Linked DNA regions of Homo sapiens: region 2 is linked to region 1. Evidence: promoter capture Hi-C in human tissues and cell types (Jung and others, 2019). All regions are on one chromosome and are shown on one strand. Each heading gives the region's core, a stretch centred on a gene start or on the middle of the fragment in contact. The rest is flanking DNA. Distances are from core to core; before and after follow the strand shown.

The links. Contacts are between HindIII fragments. The study calls those that stand out against the background at their distance.
Region 2: a contact is called between a fragment that was not itself captured here and the fragment with the promoter of RIC8B in region 1, in 1 of the 25 tissues and cell types used here (IMR-90 fibroblasts).

What each region holds. Positions count from the first base shown.
Region 1 is chr12:106,772,752-106,777,967 of GRCh38, forward strand. It overlaps RIC8B (RIC8 guanine nucleotide exchange factor B), which reads left to right and starts at 1,931. Exons shown (of 10, transcript NM_001330145.2): 1 at 1,931-2,078. The coding sequence starts at 1,995. It overlaps LOC100287944 (a long non-coding RNA gene), which reads right to left and starts at 2,080. Exons shown (of 4, transcript NR_040246.1): 1 at 1,939-2,080. RefSeq lists enhancers at 1,080-1,631, 2,402-2,451 and a silencer at 1,842-2,071. The HindIII fragment of the contact is 14,135 bases long and covers 1-5,216 here.
Region 2 is chr12:106,447,792-106,453,007 of GRCh38, forward strand. The region is part of intron 19 of POLR3B (RNA polymerase III subunit B); the gene reads left to right. Among named protein-coding and RNA genes, the nearest start is that of POLR3B, 93 kb to the left of the region's middle. The HindIII fragment of the contact is 7,589 bases long and covers 1-5,216 here.

The DNA of each region.
Region 1 (5,216 bases), core at 681-3,180:
AAAAACAATTGCAAGATGTTACTATTAGCTTAGAAAATTAGCTAACTATTCCATGACCTTACTAAAATGTGCTTTTTGGAGAGATGGATTAAAATCTTTCTGACTTAATTTATTACAGAGCACCTACCCCAATGCCTGACTCAAATATGCTCAATAAATGTTTGCTGCATGGAAAGTATAATATACAGAAAGACCAAAAGCTCCATAAACTCAGGTCCCATGTTCGTTCTTATTTCCGAATTCCCAGTATCTAGCAGAATATCTACCACAGCATAGAAGAAATTCAATCATTAGATAAATAAACTTTTGCCCCCTCTAGTTCCTCTTCAGCACAGCTCAAGAGGGAGAGACTGGTAGGGGAGACATCAAGGATGATTATGGGTAAAGGCTGCTTGGAATGGAAAACTTGAAATTACTTGGAGAATTCATCCACTTTCCATCAAAAAAAAGCTTGGGAGAGCAGAAAGAGCACAGGCTCTGAGTTCAAATTCAGTTTCCAAAAATCTGCAATTTTGATAAATTAACCAACTAACCTCTCCAAGACTCAGTTTCCTCATCTTAAAATGAGAATAACTCATATGGGTGCTCACTAGAATGGAAGCTCCATGAAGGCAGGGACTTTACTTTGGGCCCACTGTATCCACACTGCATTTAACAGCACCTGGGCACAGCACAGGCTCTCAAATATTTGTTGAATGAATGTGTATGAAATTGATTGAGCTAACACAGGTGAAGTATTAACAGAGTGCCTGACACGTAATTACCACCGGGGCAATGGGAATCTTTGTCATCACCACCACCGCTACTGTATCGGTATTATTACAGTTCCCGGAGGTCGTAGAGCGGCCGCTTCGGGGGGAAAGGCCTGGTTTCAAACCTCGACTTTCCCATTCTCTGGCCGTGTGACTTAGGATAAATTACTGAAACTATTCGGGTTCCTTTTTATTTCCACAAAAATTTGTGTTGGGAGAATTAGAGGATATAGGGAAATTACCTAAGAGAGTCTGGAGCCCCGGTGGCACGAGATGCATGCTAGAGATTAGTATTAAGGCAGAAAATCGCCGAGTCCTCTTTTATCCAGATAACTGCCTTCAATTATTTCCCACATTACTGTAGCTGAGTACATAACAAGAACGCAAATAAGGGTGGAAGGAATTCCCGAGACCGAAACCGCTAAATGAGAAAAGGGAATTAAACCGTGCTTGACAGTTCCCACCAAGGGATGGCAGTTTCCGCGACCGTCGGCCAGTCCAGCCAGCCCAGCCAGCCGAGACTGAAGCAGGACAGTCAGCGACATAACGAACAAAACCGAAGCAGACGCTTAGACCCTCCCTCTAACGGTCTCCCCGCCGCTGGCCTCAGGCGGCCGCCAGACTCCCGTTTCCGGCCCTCGCGGTACCACAGTTCCCAGCATGCCCTTGGCGGGAATTCTTTCCGGCTGGATGACTACCAATCCCAGCATGCCATTCGGCACGCCAGTAAATTAGATGGAAGAGCGGGATAGCCCCATTGCATGCAGGGAATTGCAGTCCATTTAGCGGCTGGTTCATAGATGGGCGGGGAAGAGCCGGGTTGCTCTAGTCCTTTGAGAATGATTCATAGAGGAGGGTCAGGAAAGAAGAACGGTTCAGTCTGTGAAAGCCCCCTTAAAAGACTGGACAGTTCTCCGAGGGAGGGAGAGGCAGGAGAGCAAGCAGGGCCTTGGGCCTGACTCCGCCTCGGTCCGCTAGCCAGGCCTCGACCGAGTCCTGGGCCTTGTCAGGGGCGGCCGTGAGGCGCCGGTTGCTGGGGGAGCGGTGACGTCGCGGGGTGAAAGTTGAGGGGCGGTGACGTCGGGCCGGCCCGGGCGGAGGCTGGCGGGTTGGAGGCAGGACGGAGGGAGGGAAAGAGGGAAGGAAGGAAGCTGGGAAGGAGCGAGCGGGGGCGCGAGGCGTTTACCTGGAGGCAGCGGCTTGGGCGCGCAGAGCGGCCGCGGCTCCCCCGCACCTGCGGCCATGGATGAGGAGCGCGCCCTCTACATCGTCCGGGCCGGCGAAGCAGGGGCTATCGAGCGGGTCCTGAGGGATTACAGCGACAAGGTAAAGAGTCCTGGCCCCGGGCGTGCGGTATCGCACCCCCGGGCCGCCCTCCGTGCTTGCACATCGCATCCTTCCCCACCCCCCTCATTCCGGGGATGCGCATTGCTCTCCCCCGAAAACGTTTCCGGCTTGGGCATGCGTGTTTGTGCCCCCAGCCTTTTCCATCCATGCATCCTGCATCCCACTACCCCCACTGTAGCGCCCACTCCTCTGATTCCTGGCCCAGCAGCTTGACCTCCGGTCCTCCTCTCAAGCGTGCAAGTCACACCCCCGGAATCCGTAGATGTGCATCTGTGCCCCGTGCCCCACTCCTGGATGCATAAATGCATGAGAGGCTTCCTCACCTGTATAGCATAAAAATACGTGCTTCCCTGCATAAACACGGCCCTTGACATGCATCAAATGTATCAGCAACGATGGCAGTTTCTATACGTTTAGCACTGTACGGTTTTCAAGGCATTGATGTCTCATCTATGGTCTCCTTTGATCCTCAGAGTGTTTATAGGGTAGATGGTATCATCCTCCCCATTTTATAGATGAGGAAACCGAGGTGCAAAGAGCTGAAATCACGCCCAAGGTCATGGACATATAATGTTGTAAGTGGGTGGAGAATGTAACTCCTAATGATACCTGTTATTTGTATCGCATTAACAGCTTTCCTATCCATTATCTTATTTAATCTTACAGCAATCCTGTGAGGTATTATCTGCATTTTGCAATTGAGACTCTAGATTGGTTAAGTAACTTGCCCAAGGTCATACTTGGAGCTGGTATTCCAGTTTAGTTCTTTCCACTTCACAACTCTGCGTAAAAGAGTATCTTGTTATAAATCCCAGTCACTTCTCAGAACCTCTTTCCAAGAACCGTTAGCTCTTCATTACTTTTCCTTCCAGGAATTTTACATGCTCACTTCAAAAGATAGCCTACCACACCTTTATCCTTTGGTTTAGAAGACTGCTTTATAGGAATGACTGGCGACTCCCTTCTGTGAAAACACACCCAACACCAAGTCACAACCTAGCTGTTAATGTTTTTCTTTCTTTTGCCCCCGTACATCGTCTCCCCTTCAGTGTTTGCTTTGTGTCCACCACTGCATCCATCCACTTTGTATTACTGACAATTGGTGTCTTATTTTTGAATCTTTTCCACCCGGGGCAGAAATGGCATACTGGTGGCTGAATTCCCGTTTAATCTTCCCAACAACCCTGGGAGGAGAGTGATGGTATTCCCCAATTCACAAATGATAAAATTTAGAATGATAATGTGGTCCCAAGTCCACACAGCCACTGAGAGATAGAGCTGAGATTTGAATTTACGTTGTCCAACTCCAAGTCCAGCGAGCGCTCTTTCTGCCGTACTGTGTTGCTTTCCTTGGGAAGATTCATAGGTTCTATCTATTCATATCTTAGCTCCTTCACTTTCTGATACACTTTATTGTTGAACATGTCTGCCTAATTTAGGAATAACTCATTCAATGCATAGTTGTACATATTGTGGAGATTATGATTTAACCCGATTTATTACTGCTTTCCAGAAAAGATATAAGGCAGCTTCAAACTGATTTTCAGAAGCAAGAAATGCAAAGAGAACTTGGCCATTTGTTGAATCAACTAATGTTTATTTAGCACTTACTATATGCCAGATACCCAGCAATAAATAGGAATTTGTTTCTGTAGGGGAGGAAGGAGGAAAAACCTTCAACTGGATATAATCACGTTCTTTAATATTTCTCCTTCCCTTTATGGCTAAACTAATTAGACTCCAGATTTGCTTCCTCCAATTTATCTCTTCTCATTGGTCTCCCTCCAGATTGGTATCTACTTACCACTCCTGGCCAGGTGCTGTCAGAGCTTAAATCCTGAACATCTCCAGCTCCCCTTTTGTATTGGGAATGTTTTTAAGGTTGTTTTGCATGGTGTGTCTTGCTTAAGGTGGTATCTGAAGTGTTTCAAAAGATTCCCAAACCCTTGTAATTTTGGGATCAAGCCTGAGAGTGCTCTGACTAGATGTGAACTGGGTCAGTTAGCTCTTTCAGAAGAAAGCGCTCCCTTCTTTTTTGGAGACAGGGTCTGTATCTGTCACCCAGGCTGGAGTGCACTGGTGCAATCACGGCTCACTGCAGCCTCCATCTCCTCCCCCCCACCGACCCTCCCAAGTAGCTGAGACTACAGGTGCGTGCAACAGCACTGGGCTAACTTTTTAAATTCATTTTTTGTAGAGATGGGGTCTCACTGTGTTGCCCAGGCTGCTCTCAAACTGCTGGGCTCAAGCAGTCCTCTCACCTTGGCCTCCCAAAGTACTGCGATTATAGGTGTAAGGTACTGTGCCTGGCGAGAAAGCTCTCATATTTAATACTGACTGTAGTAGGGCCAGTATAGTAGGGCTGATTATAATACAAAGAAAATGGCTGAACATCATATTGCAGTGAGGTTTTGCCCCTCAAAGGGAGAGATTTTGAGAGCAGATGAATAGGAAGTGAATGTATGATCATAGTGGTTCAGGCAGTAAGAATGGGGAGGTGGAATTAAATTGCCCAGCTCTATGGTATATGGAATTTAGAACCCTGAAAAAAAATAGTTGGGTACCATATACTTCAGTTTCCTTATCTGGAAAAATGGATTTGAGAAATGTTTGGATTATGAGGTGATTATAGGGCATTGAGGAGTCCAACAGAGAGAAATGAATGCTGTAGAGAGAGAGAGACCGGTTCGTTATTTGGGAGAGTAGTGGAGAGGTTCTTTATGCTACCTTATACCTCTAATAAAGCTAGTCCTTGAAAGGAGGCAGTCAAGTGTAGTAGAAAGGTGGTGGGATTTGACATCAGATAAACTTGGTTCAAATCCCAACTCTGCCATTTATTAGCTTTATGACTATGGATAAATTATATTAAGCCTGTGAGTCTCAGTTGCCTTACCTGTAAAATAGGGATAATATCACCATTCTCTTAAATTATTGTGAGGATTACATTAAATGAAATATAATGCCAACACTGGGCACAATGCACCTAGGAAGCACTCAGTAAGTTACAGTTATAATGACCAGGGTACCTAAGAGGTGTGGCCGGAGCACAGGTTCTGTAGCCAGCCTGGCTATGATCCTCAACTTAATGGCTTGTGTGACCCTAAACGAGTTACTTAA
Region 2 (5,216 bases), core at 2,026-4,525, 320 kb before region 1:
TTCTCACTACCCCTTCCTGCTTCAACTTCAAACTACTGGGACTTTTTTTAAAGCTCAGGAGTGAATGCAGCTTCTGTTTTTGTGTTTGTTTTTAATAGATTTTATTCCTAAGTAGATAGTTTCTTCCTTTATGTTCCGCACTTTACAGTAGGCTGAGATGCACTAGAAATAGGCTGGAGAATTTTGAGACACTAAAAACACAATATACAAAGATCCTCATAAAATTTTGTTTCATTCTACACCTCCTCCCCCTTTCTGTTTGATTTGATTTTTAGCATATTTATTCTTTGTCCGTTTAAGGGTACAAAATGCAAAAAATGTTCTGGCCAAATTACCCCTGGAAATTATTTTTTGAATTCTGCTATTGGTTAAAAGTTTTTTTAATTATTATAGCTATTTTAGGTTTAAGCTTATGTGGTATTTCCTAAGACTAGAATGTTAGCGATGAATATATACATATATATGGAGGTAAAATTGAGTACACTAAGTTTAGTATGTAGGTTTGAGTGGGAGGTAGAATGGATAATATTACAGGGTAATAAGGTATGTATTTTTATTATTACTAATATTGTTAATATTGGTCATAAATAATGTTGCCACTTACTGAGTATCCAAATTCTTTACATACGTTATTTCTTTTTTTTTTTTTTTTTTTTTTTTTTTTTGAGATGGAGTCTTGCTGTCACCCAGGCTGGAGTGCAGTGGCACGATCACAACTCACTGTGACCTCCACTTCCTGGGTTCAAGGAATTCTCCTGCCTTAGCCTCCTGAGTAGCTGGGACTACAGATGCACACCACTATGCCCAGCTAATTTTTTTTTGTTTTTTAGTAGAGACAGGGTTTCACCATGTTGGCTAGGCTGGTCTCGAACTCCTGACCTCAGGTGATCCACCTGCCTTGGCCTCCCAAAGTGCTGGGATTACAGGTGTGAGCCACTGCACCCAGCCCATTTTTTTTTAATTACAATAATAATCCTTTGAAATATAATACATACTTTTTTTTGTTCTGACAAGGAAGCTGAATCCCAGTTTTGTTGAGTAACATATAAAAGGTTTTCTATGTCTTCTATGTAATGTTACCTATAAAACTTACTAACATTCTTCTCAACCAAAACTAACTTCTTTTCTCATTTTTTTCCTGTCCATTGTGGATCACGATCAGGCTGCCTTTTCTGGTAGAATGTAAATTATAAGCCCCTCGAAGTCAGGAGCTCCGTTACTTATTACAGGTTGAATATCCCTTATCTGAAATGCTTAGGACCAGGAGTGTTTCAGATTTTGGATTTTTTTGATTTTGAAATATTTGCATATACATAATAAGATATCTTGGGGATGGGACCCAAGTCTAAACACGAAATCCGTTTAAGTTTCATATACACTTTATACGCATAGCCTAAAGGTAATTTATACGATATTTTTAATAATTTTGTACATGAAGCAAAGTTTGACTAAGTTTTGACTACAACCCATCACCTGAGGTCAGGTGTGGAGTTTTCCACTTGTGGCGGCATGTTGGCGCTCAAAAAGTTTCTGGTTTAGGAGCATTTTGGACTTTGGATTTTTGACTAAGGATGCTCAACCTGTGCTGCAGTTGACTCTTGAACAACACAGAGGTTAGGAGCACCAACTCCTCTCACAGTTGAAAATCTGTGTATAACTTTTGACTCCCCTAAAGCTAACTACTAATAGCCTACTGTTGACTGGAAGCCTTACCAATAACAGTCAATTAACACTTATTTTGTATGTGATATGTGTTATATACTATATTCTTACAATTCAAATAAGCTAGATAAAAGAAAATGTTATTAAGGAAATGATAAGGAAGAGAAAATATATTTATTGTTCTTTAAGTGGAAATGGATTATCATAAAGGTCTTTATCCTCGTCATCTTCACACTGAGTAGGCTGAGGTGTAGAGGAAGGGAGAGATTGGTCTTGCTGTCTCAGGGGTAGTAAAGGCAAAAGAAAATCCATATATGAGTGAGCCCTCGCAGTTCAAATCCATGTTCAAGGGTCAACTGTATATCCTTTGTGTCTAGCATAGTGCCGGCTTAGTAGGGAATATAGTAAGTCATGTTTCAAAAATGAATGAATGAATGAATCTCTGAGAATATTAAAATCATTAAGGAATCAGGGGTAGATTTTTGAAAAGAATTTTGAAACAAAGAATAAGTTGGAGGATTTATACAACCTGATTTTGATTTACTATAAAGCTACAGTAATACAGTATGATGTTGACAGAAGGGTAGACATATAGGTCAATGGAATTGGCATCAAGAGTCCAGAAATAGACTCAAACATTTATGGGCAATTGATTTTCAATGAATGTGTCAAAGCAATCCAGTGGAGAGTAAAGTCTTTTCAACAAAATAAATATCTGTATACTTATATGGAAAAAAGGAACATTAGCTCCTACCTCATAGCATATGAAAATTAACAAAAAATATATTATAGCCCTAAATGTAAGAGCTAAAACCGTTACTCTTGAAGAAGGAAACCTAGGTGAAAACCTTCATAGCTTGAGTTGAGCTAAGATTTCCTTACATAAAGAGTACAAAGTATAAAAATTGATCTTCTCAAAATTAAACTTTTGCTCTTGGAAAGATACTGTTAAGAATATGAAAATGCAAACCATAGAATGGGAGAAAGTATTTGCAATACATATATCTGATAAAGGATTTGTATTCAAGTATATATAAAGAACACTTCAATAGTAAGACAACCCAATTAAAAGATGGACAAAATAAAAACAAAAACCAAGCACTTCACAAAGTTTTGGCATGACCAAATAAGCACATGAAACTGTGTTCAGCATTATTAGTTATCAGGTAAATGCAAATTAAGACCCCTATAAGATACTACTACACACTCAGAATGATTAAAATTAAAAAGACTGACCTACTAAGTGTTGGTGAGGATGTGGAGCAACCAGAATGCTCATATACTGCTGGTGGAAATGTAAAGTGGTATAATCACTCTGGAAAATTCTTTGGAATGTTCTTAAAGTTAACTATACCCTTGCCAAACAACCCAGAAATTGCATTCCTAGGTATTAAATATTTACCCAAGTAATGAAAAAACATACAAAGACTTGTACATGAATGTTTATAGCAGTTTTATTCACAGTAGCCAAAAACTGCGAAACGATGCAAATATTCATCAGCAGGTGAATGGATAAACGAAGTGTATATTTATACAATACTAAGCCATAAAAAGAATGAAGCATAATATTCAACCATATGCATAAATCTCAGGATCATTATGCTAAATAAGCAGATACTGTATAACTCCATTTATATAAAATTCTAGAAAATGCAAACTAATCTGTAACAATACAGAACAGATCAGTGGTCCCTGAGGTGAGGAACAAAGGGAGGGATCTTTTGGGGGTTAGGAATGTTCTGAATCTTGACTATAGTGGTGGTTTCACAGGCAATTTATAGTGCAACCTTGATAAAAAGTTCTGATATATGTATATCAGAACTCATTAATTTGTACACTTTAAATGGATGAAGTTTATTGTATTCAATAATGTTGATTTAAAAGAAAATTGAGGCCAGGTACTGTGGTTCATGCCTGTAATTTCAGCACTTTGGGAGGCTGAGGCAGGCGGATCACTTGAGGTTGAGGAGTTCACCTGGCCAACATGGTGAAACCCCATCTCTATTAAAAATACAAAAATTAGCTGAGTGTGGTGGTGCAAGTCTGTAATTCCAGCTACTCGGGTGGCTGAGGCACAAGAATCAGTTGAACCCAGGAGGCAGAGGTTGCAGTGAGTCGAGATTGTAACACTGCACTCCAGCCTGGGTGATGGAGTGAGACTCTGTTATTTAAAAAAAGGCGGGGGGGGAGGAGAGGGGAGGGAAGGAGAGGGGAGGAAATTTGGCAAAGGAAGATAGGAAAAAATAGCTAAATGCATAAAACTTCATTTTAATTTTTTCAGCATACATTTTCTAAGCTGTTTACATCCTTCCTTACCAAGCTTTTTCATGCTGCCTTATAAAAGAGCACTTTTTCAATATTTTAACTTACATTTGTTTACCTTGTAGTGCCAGCTTGTGACTTAAGAAAGTTGTTATCAAGAAAATAGGGCTTTTTAGAAAGATTATGCCTTAGTAAGTAAAGGGAATCATTGGAGACCATAGTACAGCAAAATGGGATAATAGAAGTAGAATGCAACTTATAGATATTCTCCTTGTGTTATTTTATATGTGTGTATATATATGTAACGCCCTTTTTAAGGAAGCTGAAAATACTAATAGGGGAATCAAAGTTTGAGCGTGTGCTGCACACAGGCAAGCCCTATCATTTGCTTGCCTGTTGCTTATTGGCAAAATGGTTAGTCAGCCATTCATTATTTTTATAAACATTTGGGAATCTGATAGCATTTTGAAGTTTTATGATATAGAATAGTTTATAAATTCTATTTTAACATTTTAACTTACACACCCATAGTCAGTGCTGCTAAAAATGCACGTACATGTATACTCTCACAAGTTCTTTAAAAGGCCTTTAGAGAAAACTTTTTGATGTCATAAGCACTAAACATTTGCTAAACTATTTTGCTGTTCATCCATTCAGTGGTCAGTTGTAATGCCTGAGAATTATGTTCTGGGCCTGGTAGCACAATTTATAGCAGGATCCAGTCTCTTTCACCATTGTTTAGAGGTGCAGCCATTTATGCTTCCCTGCTGCATAATAATGCGTGTCTCAGGTTTCAGAAGACATGTTTGGCAGCCTGGTGGGACATTGCCTGAACCCTTGTCTCCAGCTGAGTAAGGTATACAATTGGAACTGAAATCTCAACATAAATTTTAAGTGATTTCATAAAAAAGGACAAACTTATTGTCAGTGAACTTTACCATAATCCCAGCAGTAGTAATCTTATTTCTAAAACAGTAAGTGATCTATTGCCAGGTATCCTGCCCAGTTTATTAGTTGGCACTAAAATAACATAAATCAATTGGCAATTTATAGTGCAACCTTGATAAAGTTCATGAGTTTCAGTTTGACTTGTTTTTCAGCTGAATCTTTTTAAGTTTTTAGAGATTTAAGCACATACTGTCATAAAAAGTATAATAGAATTCTTCAATTTAATTTGCTTGACATTTATTGAGCATCTATAATAAGCATGGCACTGCACTAGGTATTCCCTACATATGTACTATTTCTTTCAGTAGTAATTGTCAAGTAATTTTTGCTGCTTGAATGGTTTA